Linked DNA regions of Homo sapiens: regions 2 and 3 are each linked to region 1. The links are contacts of gene promoters, found by promoter capture Hi-C in human tissues and cell types (Jung and others, 2019). All regions are on one chromosome and are shown on one strand. The core of a region is centred on a gene start or on the middle of the fragment in contact, and the rest is flanking DNA. Distances in the headings are between cores, read along the strand shown. Region 1 holds the start of RGS6 (regulator of G protein signaling 6). Region 2 overlaps RGS6 (regulator of G protein signaling 6). Region 3 overlaps RGS6 (regulator of G protein signaling 6).

Region 1 (5,031 bases), core at 1,724-4,223:
GGACTGGGTAGAAATAATTGACTAGAATAATATTTGGAAGAATATACAGTTAAAGATATGTTAACAGTGGCTCCCTCTCCCTAGCAGATTATGGATAACCTTTATTTTTTTCTTTGTATTTTCCTGAACTGTTTCAATAGCTAAATATTACTTTTGGAATCAGGGGAAAAGTTAAAATTGTTTTTTGAAATATTATATCCATATCACTCAACACGAAAGTTGATTTTGTAATTCTATTTCTTTCCTTACAGCAGGATAGTGTGTGTATAGTAATTATTTATATCATGCCATATGTTACAAAGAAGATGAAATTTGGTAAATATATTCCTTCCAGCTGGAAACTGAAAATGAAGAGGTTAAATGCATTCCTAGGTTCAGAGCAATACCAATTAAGACAAGCTAACTGCAAAGCTAAAGGAAAAATTAATCCCGGTATTGAGATCTCTGACAGCATCCTTTTGAAAAATGTTTATGTGACACACAGCTCCTTATTCCATCCCCTGATATTTAACCCCTGGCACGAAACAGAATGTTCAGCAATTCCTGGCAAAGTCTTAGGAGTTCAGGGGATAAAATGCATGGGAGAAGATGAGAGACATAAGAAATGGAATGATTCTACTTTCACACAAAATTATGTCCCTGTAGACAAAGAGACATCCAAAATTACTGGCAAATTGTCCACAGTAACCTAAATTTATTTTTCTTTCTCAAGAAACGTCTACTTACTTCAAAAACATCTATGTTGCAGATCTTATTCTGCAAGTCAAAAATAAATAAATAATTAAAATGGACTCATTTAAATAAACATTTCTGCCACAAAAGCATTGTCATAATGTTTCACTTGATAAGATGAATTTATTGCTTCAAAGAAAATCTAGTCTTGTTTTACTGAAACTCTCAGCAATATAAATTCAGTGAATGTTAACTGAAATTCCTTAAAGAAAATCAGAAGTAAAGTTAAGATCTGCCAGAATAAATATATAAAAGGAAACACTGGTGGCCTCTCTCCTTCATCACAATACCTCCCAACAGCTGACATTTATAGAACTTGCAGACTCTTTCAGGAAAGGATGAGTTATTGGGAATAGACTCTCTCTACATATATATAGTTTATGGTGCATGAGATCATATTTACAGGACAATTTAGCTTAAGAGTGGTACAATATCAAAGAACTTAGAATTTATCATCTATAGCATGCGAGATTTGGCTTGCAAAGGTTTCTCTCTCAAGAGTCTCACCAAATGTCCCTCAGCCCTCTACTTTCCTTCACAGAGTAGTCCCACCCATTGAAAAAGTGATAAATTAAGAATAAAGAATATACATCTTACAGAAAGTTTCCCACCATAGTCCCAGTTCCCACTCTATGTAATTACCTATTTGCCTATGAAAATTGATATGTAAGAGCCGTGTTGTCAACACATTTAACTAAACCTAACAGTTTCCTTTCAGTCTTAACACTTTTTGACAGACCATACACACACAAACTTGTAGCTCATTCTCTAACTCCATTTTGATACTTACAAGCCCAGTTCTTCCATCTCTCACCCTCCCTGGAAAGAAAGTCCAGTGGAAGTTTTACCTAAACTTGATTATTTTTGCGTTTTTCTTTGGGGTTGTTAAAGGTATTGATCAGAACTCACCTCCCAAGCATTGATAATCCCAAGCCGACGAGACCCCAAATATCTTCAGTTTGTAACATAGAAATGCTACTGGTCTCAATGACAGAGAAGGAAAATAACGTTCCTACTCCGTCAAATTAAGAAACAAAAATGAAATACAGCAGCTTTCATTCTGAACAAAACTAAATTTTCTGGGTCACTTTCCCTGTCTCACTGGGCCACTTCTTTACGCAGCCTGCTGGTGACTGTAAACACGGTCTCTTCACTCCTCACGCAACCAGTTCATTTGTCATCCTCTCCAAGCGAATAGCCACCGCTTCCTTTGCTAGCGCAGTTCCCAAACAACAAACCTCCCCACCCGCCCCTGCCCTCCACACCTCACCGCGGAGACTCGCTTTCTTTTCTTCCAAACCACAAATGGGCGAGCTTGTTCAGGGAAAAAGTTAATGAACGCCTGATTAGAGGCAAAGCTGCCCTACCTGCGATCACAACATCGGAAGACTGGAAGTATCTAAAAGCGCCATCCTCTGCGCTCTCGTCCCCGTCGGTGTGCGCTTCACACCCAGAAACCCAGGAACATGATTTATATGCAGACCTGCACCCATCCCACACAAGTCCACACGCCAGCTTGCCTAACCACTTATGTAAGCTCGTGCTTCCACAGTCCCAAACTGCAGACACACACACACGGGCACCTGTCACGCATCTGAAATGGACAAGCACCCACACCCAGGAGATGAAATCAACACATATTAATGGGGTGGGGAGGGAGGATACTGTTTTAAACCATGTTTTTCCCCCATTTGTTTCTTGCCCATTTTTTATCACAACTACAATTACCTTAGCAACCAAAGAATTGCCTTGACTCTCCCTCTGGCTCCAGAATTTTTCCTAAAGCCAACCTTGCGCCAGGTTCATGATAAAGCTGGAGAAGCCCAGGGAACCGGGGACCGGCAGCCTCTTGGGGGCGGAGGGGAAGTCTAGTCCGTCTCCGCGCCGCTCCCCACAGCCTCGCCTCCTCTTTCCGAGTTTCCGTGGTGGCGAGCGCAGGGGCTCAGCGAGCGAAGAGCGAAGCCCCGGGCCCGCGAGGACGCGCGGCGGGTCGCATGGTGCCGGGACTCGGGGCGCACAGGGTGTCCCCGGCGCGCTCCGGGCTGGCCTGGCTCTCCGCGCTCCCAGGCGTTCGCCGCTTGCCCGCCTCTGCCCGCCCCGGTCGGCAAGGGTGCGCGGAGGTCTGTCCGTTCCCTCGGCGCCTGGCGGCTCCGGCGGCTGTAGGAACGCGGCGCCCAGGCGGAGCTCTCGCCGCCGAGCAGGGCCGAGCGCGAGGAGCTGCCCCAACTCGCGAAGCCGTTCAGCTCCGCGGCCCGCGAGCTGCTGCAGCGGCGCCCGCTGTCGGATGCCGAGCGGAGCTGCAGCCCCGTGCCCCGCGCACCTGGGCGCCGGCACCTGGGCCCCGGCACCTGGGCCCGGACCGCGTGCTGCAGGGAGGGGCCGGCGGGCGGGGACCGGCACCTGAGCGCGTCCCGCGGGCGCCGCCGCACGGCTCACCTGTTCCCAGAGCCGCGGAAGGCGCAGACCGTGATTTGCTCGAGGAGGAGAAAACCTAGAAATGCCTCATCCTCAAGAAGCCGCCGAGAAAACCGAGAGACTGGCTCGACCGGGCGGAGGCTGCTTTCGTCAATTCCAAACTGGCCCGGTCCGGAAACTTCAGCGGCGTCAAGGTTCTCTTAGGGATTCCCGGCCCGGGGTGAGGTGCCCGGCGGCTTCTGAATCTCCCTCACTGACGTGTTGCTGGCGCCCTCTAAATTAAAACGGGACACCGCGACCGTCAGCGATATTGTTCCTAACCTCGTCATTTTTATGTATTCAACATGCACACCACACGCTGCATTTGGAATATTACAGGATGATTCCTATCTGGAACACTACAAAAGAACTTTCGAGAAAAGTAACTCTCAGATATTCTTGGGGGAAGCAGAAAAAAGTCGAAGACAGAAAATGAGAAAGTAACTTGAACTGATGCCTTTCTTTAACGTGGGAGTTTTGAAATGCGATGTGTACTTAGATTCAAAAAGCTGCAGGTGGAAATAGGACAAGATCACTAGTGCTGGACGGTAACCGTGGGATTTGTGTGCAATATCAATGCTATCAATATCAAGAATAAATTTGAGATTTAGTCCTGAATTGTAGTATGTCACCAGAAAAGGGGAAAAATACTTGAAATAAAATACCTAAATGCCTTTAACGATGGATGACCTGGACTCCTCATTCACATGGGTCCAGAAGTTAAAGAGTAAAGTCTCCTTCCCAAATTGTGTCTTTTCCCGCCATTCTACATTGATTAATGGATGTATTCATTCTTTCCTTCAATAGACAAATAGCACCTGCTCTGTGTTAGACCCTCTTCTAACATTAGAAATGGATAATAAAGGAAGCAGTCTCTGCCCTGAAGCCTTCACGTCGAATGGGATAACACACAAGCAGACATGTGTGTTATGGTAGGCTTAGTACACAGAAAGGCGGGGGGTGGGGGGAAACCTGCAACCAAGAGAAACCATACCCAGCCTAGTGAGGAAAATAGAATTGTAACAGATGTCCCAGTTGTTTATTAAAGCTGAAATATAAAATCTTTCTTTCCTCAGGCTCAATACTTGGCTCAAGCCGGTTGTGGAGCTGGCTGTGGCCGTTTGTCACAGTTAAAGAATAGGCTGTACATGGAGCGAAAGGTAGCAACTAGGGAAACTTCCGCTTTGAGGAGCTCTGCTTTTTTTTTTTTTTTTTTTTTTTTTTTTTTTTTTTTTTTTGAGACGTAGTTTCCTTCTTGTTGCCCAGGCTGGAGTGTGGTGGTGCAATCTTCGCTCACTGCAACCTCCGCCTCCCAGGTTCAAGCGATTCTCCTGCCTCAGCCTCCCAAGTAGCTGGGATTACAGGTGCCTGCCAGCTAATTTTTTGTGTGTTTTCAGTAGAGATGGGGTTTCACCATGTTGGCCAAGCTGGTCTCAAATTCCTGACCTCAGATGATCCACCCGCCTTGGCCACCCAAAGTGCTGGGATTACAGACTTGAGCCACCACACCCAGTGGGAACTCTGCATTTCTGAGGCTAGCAGCTCCTTGAGGGCCAAGTACAGCATGAAGGAATAATACTGTGGAAGTATAAACAGCAGGCTCCAGGCTCATCAGAAGAAAGCCTTACTGTGTACTTCTCTTTAAAAAAAAATATGTGAAATCAGATATTTATAGGAATTAGATATGTATTTTCATATTGATACATTTTGTGTATTATATGGGATTCCTGATATATCTATGTAGTATGGTTTCTTATACATAAAATATCTGATTTCATATGTATGTGTATGTATGTGGGGGGTATTTTATATATATATGTATGTAATAGAGACAGGACACATTTT
Region 2 (5,031 bases), core at 1,544-4,043, 390 kb before region 1:
GTATTTTGATTTCTGTTTCTATTGCTTTTTTAAAAAAATCTTCTACTCTTTGGTCTATATTTTCTTTTTGTGAGTATTCCTTGTGCTATTTGGGCAGGTTTGTATTATGGTTAATTTTTCCAGTGATCACCTTTGTAACTAACCCTTATTTAGCTATTTAACTTCTCTGTTTCTTGAAACACTGACATTTTACTTTCCACTAAAAGCAATACAAATTGTTCTTTATTTTCTCTTCCTTCTATCACTTGAATTTGGTTAATAGGCACTAAACATTGGTTTAATATATATTATATGTTTACATATTAAACATGTACCTTATATATTACATATATATTTCAAACTAACATATATGTTCATTCCTACACTTATTTTTGTATATTTAAATATACTTAGTATATTTAGTAAATATATTAATTTACTAATATACTTCAGTAAATATATTAATTTACTAATATACTTTAGTAAGTATGCTAAGTATATTTAAATATACTTGATTTATCATGTTTAAATGAGATGATGAATGAATCTACATACCACCTTCCACCTTATCCTTATATTAGTTAAAATATTTATGAACATTCAGAGCTTAGTTTTTTTTTTCTATAACAAAAGTTTCTGCACTTATTTAGACCCAGTCTAAAAGCAAAACAGACTCAGTGTTCACTGAAAATCCTTTTGCCATGGTTTCTTCATTCATCTCTTAGATAAAGTCTTTAATAGTTTTTTATTTTTTATTTTTTAATTTTATTTATTTTTTTGAGACAGAGTCTTGCTCTATTGCCCAGGCTGGAGTGTAGTGGTGTGATCTCTGCTCACTGCAAGCTCTGCCTCTCGGGTTCACGCCATTCTCCTGCCTCAGCCTCCCAAGTAGCTGGGACTACAGGTGCCCGCCACCACGCCCAGCTAATTTTTAATTTTTTTGGTAGAGATGTGGTTTCACCATGTTAGCCAGGATGGTCTCGATCTCCCGACCTCGTGATCCACCTGCCTCAGTCTCCCAAAGTGTTGGGATTACAGGTGTTAGCCACCACGCCCAGCCAATAGTTTTTTAAAGAATAACTCATGGGAATCATCTTCTCTGGGTTCTTAAATGTTGGACACGTTTTATTTATTGTTTTTACATTTGAATGACAGTTTGGCTGTGCATAAAACTCTAAGGCCACATACTTTTTCACTGAGGGCTTCATGGGCATTACTCTCTGCAATCTTGGAATGTTGCTGTAAGGAAGGCTTAGGTTAGCCTGAGGTTTTTTTTAAACTGTGGTCTTGTATAGGTTACTTGATATTCCTGCTGGTGTGACCAAATCATTCTTATCTCCAAGATCTATCAATACATCTATAATACAGAGTAGTATTGATTGTTCTTTAGCAAATTTTCTGTAACATAGTAGACTCCTTCAATCTATAAATTCAAATCTTTTATTTATTGAAAGTTACGTAGAATTATATCTTTGTTTATGTTTCATTTGTTTAATTCTCTTCTTCAGGGATATATTGTGATGTATCTCTGGGATCTTCCTCGTCACCCAAATATACTATTTTCTTTCTAATACTTTTAAGCTGTTGTTTCCGTTTTGTTTGCTTTGATAATCCTGCCCATCATATCCTCTATTCTATGTTCGGCAGTGTCTAGTGTCTATTTTACTTTGGCTGCTTCAAAATCATCTTCATATCTGTGATGATTTTCCCCCTTCAGGCCGGGTGCGGTGGCTCACGCCTGTAATCCCAGAACTTTGGGAGGCTGAGGCAGGCAGATCATGAGGTCAGGAGATCGAGACCATAGTAAAACCCCATCTCTACTAAAAAATACAAAAAAATTAGCCGGGCATGGTGGTGGGTGCCCCTGTAGTCCCAGCTACTTGGGAGGCTGAGGCAGGAGAATGGCGTGAACCCGGGAGGTGGAGGTTGCAGTGAGCCGAGATCACGTCACTGCACTCCAGCCTGGGCAACAGGGCGAGACTCCGTCTCAAAAAAAAAAAAAAAAATTTCCCCCTTCAGTTCTCTGGAGAGCTACATCAGTGTATGTTTCTTCTCTTCTCACGTCACCATATTACCCCTGACCTCTTTATTTCTGTTTTGAGCTCTTTGGTGGTTTCTTTAAGTCGTCAAGATCATGGTAATGTTATCTTTTGATTTGTCTGTTGGAATCACCTATAGTGAGTGTTCTGCATTTACCATCTATTTTCCAGTTTTTTCTCCTTTTATATTATAATATCTTTGTAGTGTCATGTATGGCATATTACAATATCCTGTGCTGGTTCCTTTTTATTGTTACTTTCCTCTGAATGTGGAAACTTCTTGATTCAGATATTTAGAGGACAGTTTTGTGGGATAGGAGTCAGGATGTTGTGAGTTGGTAAAAATTTACCTGATTTACTGTTAAGTCTTATTACAAAGGGTTGTGTGCTGATGAGTTATTTTAGCCACTGCTTCTTCTCGGCCAACAGGCTGCCGTAGTGCCACAACAATGGACTGCTTCCTATACACACAGGATGACTGTGCATTTCCCTTTCAGTTTCATTTGCTACTACATGGTAGCAGGTAGGGTCCAGGGAGGTTTTCTACTTCCAGTCTTGCAATACCCTTGCCATTTTCCAAACAAAGGCTTATTGGCGTCATCCTTTAGGGTATGCCTGCTCTGAAGTACCAGTTTTGGAGACGTGTTTTTTGCTTGCTTTGTCAAAATCTATAACCTGATCATAGTGATTGTCTCTTAGCCCTTCCTGAGCTTTCGTTCCACTGCATTTGGCCAGCCTTACGTCATATATTGTGGTTCATGGATATAGAATCTCCCAGCTTTTTGAAAGCAAAATTTATGCTTTTCACTCATTTTTCTGTTTTATGATTGTGAGGGCTAATACTGAGTGTCAACTTGATTGGATTGGAGGGTGCAAATTATTGATCTTGGGTGTGTCTGTGAGGGTGTGGCCAAAGGAGATTAACGTTCAAGTCAGTGAGCTGGGAAAGGCAGACCCATCCTTAATCTGGGTGGGCACCATCAAATCAGCTGCCAGCATGGCCAGCATGTAAACCAGGGAGAAAAATGTGAAAAGGCTAGACTGGCTGAGCCTCCCACCTTACATCTTTCTACTGTGCTGGATGCTTCCTGCCCTTGAATATCAGATTCCAAGTTCTTCAGCTCCAAGTTCTTGGGCTGAGGTGGGATCTTTCCCTCCCCACTGTACACTGAGCAATAGAGGGTGGTGAGGGGTGAGGGAGCCACGCTGCTGAATTCTGGTTGGCATTCCCAGCTGTGTAAAATGGGGTGTTGGGGTGGGGCAGCCTCTGCTTGGGTTTGGTTATAAGATAAACCTGGAGGAAAAGTACAGTTGCCCCCACTGAATTATTTGAGCAAAAACTATTGTAAATAACTTCTGTTTTTGTCTTTTGTCAAATAAAATCGTTTGGGACTTGGACTGGCTTCCTTGCCCCTCAGCTTGCAGACAGCCTATTGTGGGACCTTGTAATCGTGTAAGTTAATACTACTTAATAACCTCCCCTTTCTATATATATCTGTCCTATTAGTTCTGTCCCTCTAGAGAACCCTGACTAATACAATGATTTTCAAGAGGAAACTGGGAAGAGCTTCTTTTCTGATGACATCTTAAAATTTAAGATGCTCCATGCTGTTTTTACTACATCAAAGCTTATAACAGACTCGGTTTTCTTTCCATTTTAACATTTACAATGGCCATTTTACAAATCAACACAACACAGGAGGCTGGAGGGAAAAAGAAACAACAACAAAAAATCCAAATCAAGTATTGACCTTCGAGCCCCTAAGAATGTCAGGAAGCACTTGGCTAGAATCACTAGGTAAATTTGCGAAGGCCTTCGACAATGGAAATAGAGAGTCGAGGCAAACGTGCACATTTTCACCATTCATAAGCCCCTAAGGAAGCTTCTCTAGGAAGTAAAATCATTGACCTTTTAATTCTGGAAGGACACTGGTGTGAGATTAAAAAGGGACCATAAAAGATGAATCTAGACAGAAAATTAGAACACTTTAACCTCAGTTGTTATATATTTCATCAAATTCCCTCAATCTGCAAGTCTTAAATAATTCTATTATTATTATTATTGTTATTATTATTGGCAGCAATACCACTGAGTGCTTACTTTGTGCCTGATCCTGTGCCAAATGCCCCTCAAATCTCTATGAGATAAAACTACTCTTATCCTCAATCATATATGAGGAAATGTGTGCAAGGCTAACTAATGAGCTCAAGGTCACATAACCAACCAGTGCTACAGCCAGCATTAGAACCCAGTTCTGCCTGACTTTTGCATCTTTTGTTGTAATTGCTGTAAGTGATCAGTTACCAAATTTACACTATTATCTTAATAGAGTTGCATTCTCCATTTTCAAAGGAACATTGACCTGAGTGATATGTGAAATACACACACACACACACACACACACACACACACACACACACTTCACCTGCTTTCAATTCTCTATACCTAGGGAACAGTTTATAAGCTAGTAGCTACCAGATGGCCACTTTGAGAAGTTCAGGTTTACTGATTTGGCCATGTATTTTGCTATGCAGAAAAAAAATAATGCCAATCAATGATTGGAATACAATAAGAGATGATTATTCTTGTGTAATAAGGAATGCAATGGCAGGCAGCCTAGGGCTAGGGAATCTATTTGAGAATATCATCAAGCTCATGGAACCAACCCAAATGTCCATCAATGATAGACTGGATTAAGAAAATGTGGCACATATACACCATGGAATACTATGCAGCCATAAAAAAGGATGAGTTCATGCCGTTTGTAGGGACATGGATGAAGCTGGAAACCATCATTCTCAGCAAACTATCACAAGGACAGAAAACCAAACACCGCATGTTCTCACTCATAGGTGGGACACGAATGATGAGAACACTTGGACACAGGGTGGGGAACATCACACACTGGGGCCTGTTGTGGGGTGGGTGCATGGGGGAGGGATAGCATTAGGAGAAATACCTAATGTAAATGATGAATTAATGGGTGCAGCAAACCAACATGGCACATGTATA
Region 3 (5,031 bases), core at 1,341-3,840, 340 kb before region 1:
GAATTATGGGAGCTACAATTCAAGATGAGAGTTGGGTGGGGACACAGCAAAACCATATCAAATATCACCCTAAGGAGGTTTTTTAGACATTTTTTCCCAACTACCTCCATATGAAATTTTAATATCACAGATATATATATCAATCTATGTGCTGCATGTATATTCTGCAATTTATTTTTTTAAAGACTTTTTTCACCACTCCCAACCCAGAACCAATTTTGGCTCCCTTAGGGGGCTACATTGCCCCCATTGAGAATACATGCTGTAGACCCTCTCCTTCCATTAATTTTAAAAAGTTGGCTGCTTGGATAGTTTTAGATGAGGAAAGATATGTTCAGTGTATGGGAGTAAGGTATAATTTTTTTTTTAAAGCATTCATAATGTGTCAACTTTTGTGCAAAAAGTGATAAGGTAGCATGAGCTTTTCTACATAAAAATGCAAGTTTCAATGAACAGTCCATGTTTATTTATGGGCAGACATGTACCCAGCAGCACACCCTCACTAATGGTTAGAATATTGAAATTAAAAAGCTCTTAAGTGCCTCCTTCCCCCAATTCTGCCCTGCTACCCAGTCCCAGTCCCCAAAGTCTCATGGGATAGAGAGGTCTAGACGTTGGAGAGAAGTTTTCCCCTTGTGCTGATGCTGGCTTCCTAATGGAAAGATGCCAGCTAACCCTCTCCTGTGAGGTACCCTCCAAAGCTGCTCATGGGAAGTAGAGACTCTGCAATATATACTACACTTTGGTTATAATTTTCCAATATGTTCCTTACATATAGGCAAGGAATTAACTTAGAAGCTCAAATAACCCACATATGAACATTAGAGTTGGGAGGAAATAAGCGAGAGACACTGGTAGTGTGTGGAAGGACAGAAAGAGAAATGGGATGCTTGTACCCAGAATGGCCACTAAGAATGTTTTATGCCAATAGATGCTATAGATTATGTAGGAATCCTGCCTACAGAAATAGAATAATTGAGGCTTTAGCCTCTATGTAATTAAGACTATAGACATTGATTCCCTATGCTACATAAATTGCCAGGTTGTAAGCTTTTGAATCTGTAGCCTGGATTTCAGTTCCCCCTACTGTGAAACCAATGGCCCATGAAGCTTTGTTGTAGAGCTGTCTTTTGATCTTCGTACCCAATCTTCCAGTGTATACTTAGTCCCTTCAGCTATCTGAAATGCCTCATGAACTAGCCTAACTTGGTTCTGGGGACTATCCACTGAGATAGCATGTGGCCTGAATTTGTTAGTATTATGGTTATTAAGTGACTAAAACTGCCATCTCCTTTTAACATTTCTAATTATTGTGTCATTTAATCACAAAATTAATATGTGTTCATTAAAGATATTTTTTAGAAAATCAGAAAAGTGAAATAGTAATGCTACCTTCCATATATAACTATCATACAAGACAAATGAGCACTTTGTAAACTGCAATATAAAAGAAAAATACCATAGCAGACAAGCTGACCTACCCAAAGATGATCATACAGTGGTTTGTGGCATTTGTTGGAACCAGGGTGACAAACTTTCACTCTGGTGGGTGGAGGTAAGTGTTTCATTGAAGGAAGTAAATATACTGTTGTTCGTTAACCCCAAAGTAGTTGATCATGAGTAAAGGAATAAGATAAACTGTATTAGTTTCTGTCTGCTGTTATAACAAATTATCACAAACTCAGTGACTTAAAGCAGCACAAATGTATTATTTTATACTTTTGGAGGTCAGAAGTCCTCGGATGAGTTGGCAGGGGTGAGGTCCTTCTGAAGTCCCTGGGAGAGAATCCACTTCCTTGCTTGGTCTAGTCTCTAGAGGCTGTCTACACTGTTTGGTTCATGGCTCCCTGCCTCTATCATTACAACTTCTTCTCTGACTCTGACCCTCCTGTCACCCTCTTATTGATTACTTTGAGTCCACCCAGATAACCCAGGCCAATCTCCATATTGTAATTCACTCACATTTTCAAAGTCTCTTTTGCCACATAAGGTAACATATGCACAGGTTCTGGGCATGTGAATGTGGGCATCTTTGGGAGGCCATTATTTGGAGGCCCAGCCTTGGGCCTGAAGGAGGGAACCGGCCCTGTGGTCTTTGGGTTCATGCTAGGGGGCCATGGGAGGAAGGCAGTGATGCCAGAGGTGCGGGTTGAGCTGCCCTAGTCATGTCACTGATGACCTGATGGCACAAAGCAGGACCCCAAGCCCTGGATGCAGCACTAGTGGTTGGAGAGCCCAGGGGTATGCACCTGAGTTCCAATCCCACCAGACCTAATAGACTCTAGCAGAGGATGAGCCTACCTTTGAGCTCAGAGGGGAAAGCTATTTCCGGAGCCAATGATGAATAGTGCCAGAACCTCTCCTATCCTAGTACGTGGTCCTGGTCACTGTAGATCTGCCTGGAGGAAATAGAGTATCTAATGTACCCCTTACTGGGTGTGGCATGAGAAGAAATGACTCCCTTCCTCAGATTTCCAAGAATGATCTGGGCACAGCCACCATCTCTGTGGACCGTCCTAGCCTGGAATTAGCACTGTTTCCTAGTGAGGAAATACTGTTCATTTGAGAACCATTGAGCAGAAACAAATGGTTCTAAATCACTCTACACACCTGAGCAGGGAATGCCTCTTCTTTTGCAGCTAGGCACATTTGCATGCACATTCCGGAGGAAATTCCACTTCTATCTGCACATACCGGGGTCAAGGGCATCCTTTCTATACCTTTCTTTATTGATAGCTTTTGCAAACGGATGCAGCTCCATGTACCTGCCATACTTACTATTTTCAGATCTGCTCACAGCCACCCAAAGATCTTTCTTGAGCAACTACAAAGATGACAATTCCTAGGTATTCTTTCAGTCTGCTCTGGGGGAGAAAAATTACAAGAGCTTATACTCCAGGCACTAGAAGCCATTAAGTGAAACTAATGCCTTCATAAGGCAAGAATGTTTATCAGCTGCTGGTAACCATATTTCCTCCCATCTTTTATTACTTTAAATCTTAATAGGGCCCTTGCACTATTCAACAGCTTATCAATGCCAGCAGCACAGTGTCGTTTATTTCCTATGTATATACCACCGATTGCCCCTGCTGTCCACACTTATGCTGTGTTAGCTGTTGACCCAATTTAATGCCTAGCTGGAAACTTTCCACACAGCTGTGATTAAAGAGGGAAAAAAATGAAAGAAGAGGTGATTCAGTTACTTGCATATGTATAATTCTTTGATTAAAGAAAAAAAAAGGTGGTGAGGGAGGAGATTGTCTAATGACCCACATACATATAAGTTCTTTTTAGGCTCAAGTTTCTTACCCATAATGCAAGCTTTGAAAGCCGGAATCAACTTTCTCAAGTCACTGTGGAATGCTCACTTTCAATTATATGTGAACCCGTACATCTCCAAGTCAATTTTCTTTCTTTCTTTTTTTTTTTGAGATGGAGTTTTGCCCTTGTAGCCGAGGCTGGAGTGCAATGGCACGGCCTCAGCTCACTGCAACCTCCACTCACTGCAACCTCAGCTTCCCAGGTTCAAGAGATTCTCCCGCCTCAGCTTCCCAAGTAGCTGGGATTACAGGCACCTGCCACCACGCCCTGCTAATTTTTTGTATTTTTAGTAGAGATGGGGTTTTGCCATGTTGGCCAGGCTGGTCTCAAATTCCTGACATCAGGTGATCCACCCGCCTTGGCCTCCCTAAGTGTTGGGATTACAGGCGTGAGCCATTGCACCTGGTCTCCAAGTCGATTCTCTTAAAGCTGATATTTCAACTGTAGAGCCATAATTTTATCTCTAATTCATCTAATTCATTTACCTAATTCATTCATTACTCTTTTGGCATAATTTCCAATGTAGGGGGAGAAAAGACTGGTAGTGAACACTGCATTACAATGATCAAGGACAGGATGATGGGGCTGGGCCCAAGAGAGAAATAAAAGGGCACAGACACCGAGCTGTATATTACACAACATTCTGTATCTTATTTCAGGATTTTGATGCTGAAATAATGGCACTGCATTTTCCACAGGCTAGCCTCTCTCCATTTCCAGTACATTCCCTGTAGAAATTGAGAGCCATGGAAGGCTAGAGGATGAAAGAGGATTTGAGAACATCTAACCACAACCTTGATTTTTTACAGAGGCCCAGAGCAGTTCAACAACTTGCCTACTGACACTCAGTAGTCTGTTTGAAGGAGAGAAGCTAAAATCCAAGTCTCCTGATTACCAGGCAAGTGCTATTTCCATAAAACATGCTGTCCATCTTTTCCCCTTGATTAAGTCACCTCAATTGCATTGAGTATGGTGATATGAAGTCACTGTTGGCAAAGGCCAGCTAACCCTCTTCACTCCTGAGCCCAGAGTACACATCTCTGGTACTTATCTGATTTATCAAAAAAATCAGTGCCTTTAGAGATGGATGAGGGTTGGTGGTAGGAAGAATAATTTCCCCACCCCAATACATCCACATCCTAATCCCCAGAACTTGGATATGTTCAGCTACATGGCAAAAGGGAATTAAGATTGCTTAGAATTAAGGTTGTCAATTGGCTGTTCTTAAAATAGGAAGATTATCCTCGATTATCCCAGTGGCCCCAGTGCCATCACAGAGTCCTTAAAAGTGGAAGAAGAAGGCAAAAAAAAAAAAAAAAAGTGATGCTGTGTTAAGGAGGACTCAACTACTGCTGCTGGCTTTGAAGAAGGGAAGGGGCAAAGAGCCAAGGAATGCCAGCGGCCTCTAGAAGTTGGAAAAGGCAAGGAAACAGATTCTCCCCTAGAGCCTCCAGAAAGGAATGCAGCCTGTCACCCCTTGCTTTTAGCCTATCTATTTCAGATTTCTGACTTCAGAACTGTGGGATAATATATTTACATGGTTTTAAGCCATTAAGCTTGTGGTAATTTGTTACAGCAACTGTAGAAAACTAATACAGAGTTGGAATGACTGCTCACAAATCCATCGCAGGTTAAAATGCTGTGCTCTTACAGGAAAGATGTGGCACCATTCTCTCACAGGCTCATTTGACTACTGACCAAGTCTGAACT

The links. The method cuts DNA at HindIII sites, captures the fragments that hold promoters and counts their contacts. A contact is called where the count stands out against the background at its distance.
Region 2: a fragment that was not itself captured here is called in contact with the fragment with the promoter of RGS6 in region 1 in 3 of the 25 tissues and cell types used here (dorsolateral prefrontal cortex, heart left ventricle and lymphoblastoid cells).
Region 3: a contact is called between a fragment that was not itself captured here and the fragment with the promoter of RGS6 in region 1, in 1 of the 25 tissues and cell types used here (lymphoblastoid cells).

What each region holds. Positions count from the first base shown.
Region 1 is chr14:71,930,371-71,935,401 of GRCh38, reverse strand. RGS6 (regulator of G protein signaling 6) reads right to left here and starts at 2,973. Exons shown (of 18, transcript NM_001204424.2): 1 at 2,461-2,973. It overlaps LOC124903404 (translation initiation factor IF-2-like), which reads right to left and starts at 3,476. Exons shown (of 2, transcript XM_047432046.1): 1 at 3,377-3,476; 2 at 2,512-3,233. The coding sequence starts at 3,476. The coding sequence ends at 2,512. RefSeq lists silencers at 2,725-2,884, 2,905-3,184. The HindIII fragment of the contact is 19,590 bases long and covers 1-5,031 here.
Region 2 is chr14:72,316,305-72,321,335 of GRCh38, reverse strand. All of the region lies in intron 2 of RGS6 (regulator of G protein signaling 6), which reads right to left. Among named protein-coding and RNA genes, the nearest start is that of MIR7843, 200 kb to the left of the region's middle. The HindIII fragment of the contact is 7,199 bases long and covers 1-5,031 here.
Region 3 is chr14:72,271,531-72,276,561 of GRCh38, reverse strand. The region is part of intron 2 of RGS6 (regulator of G protein signaling 6); the gene reads right to left. Among named protein-coding and RNA genes, the nearest start is that of MIR7843, 240 kb to the left of the region's middle. The HindIII fragment of the contact is 3,019 bases long and covers 1,081-4,099 here.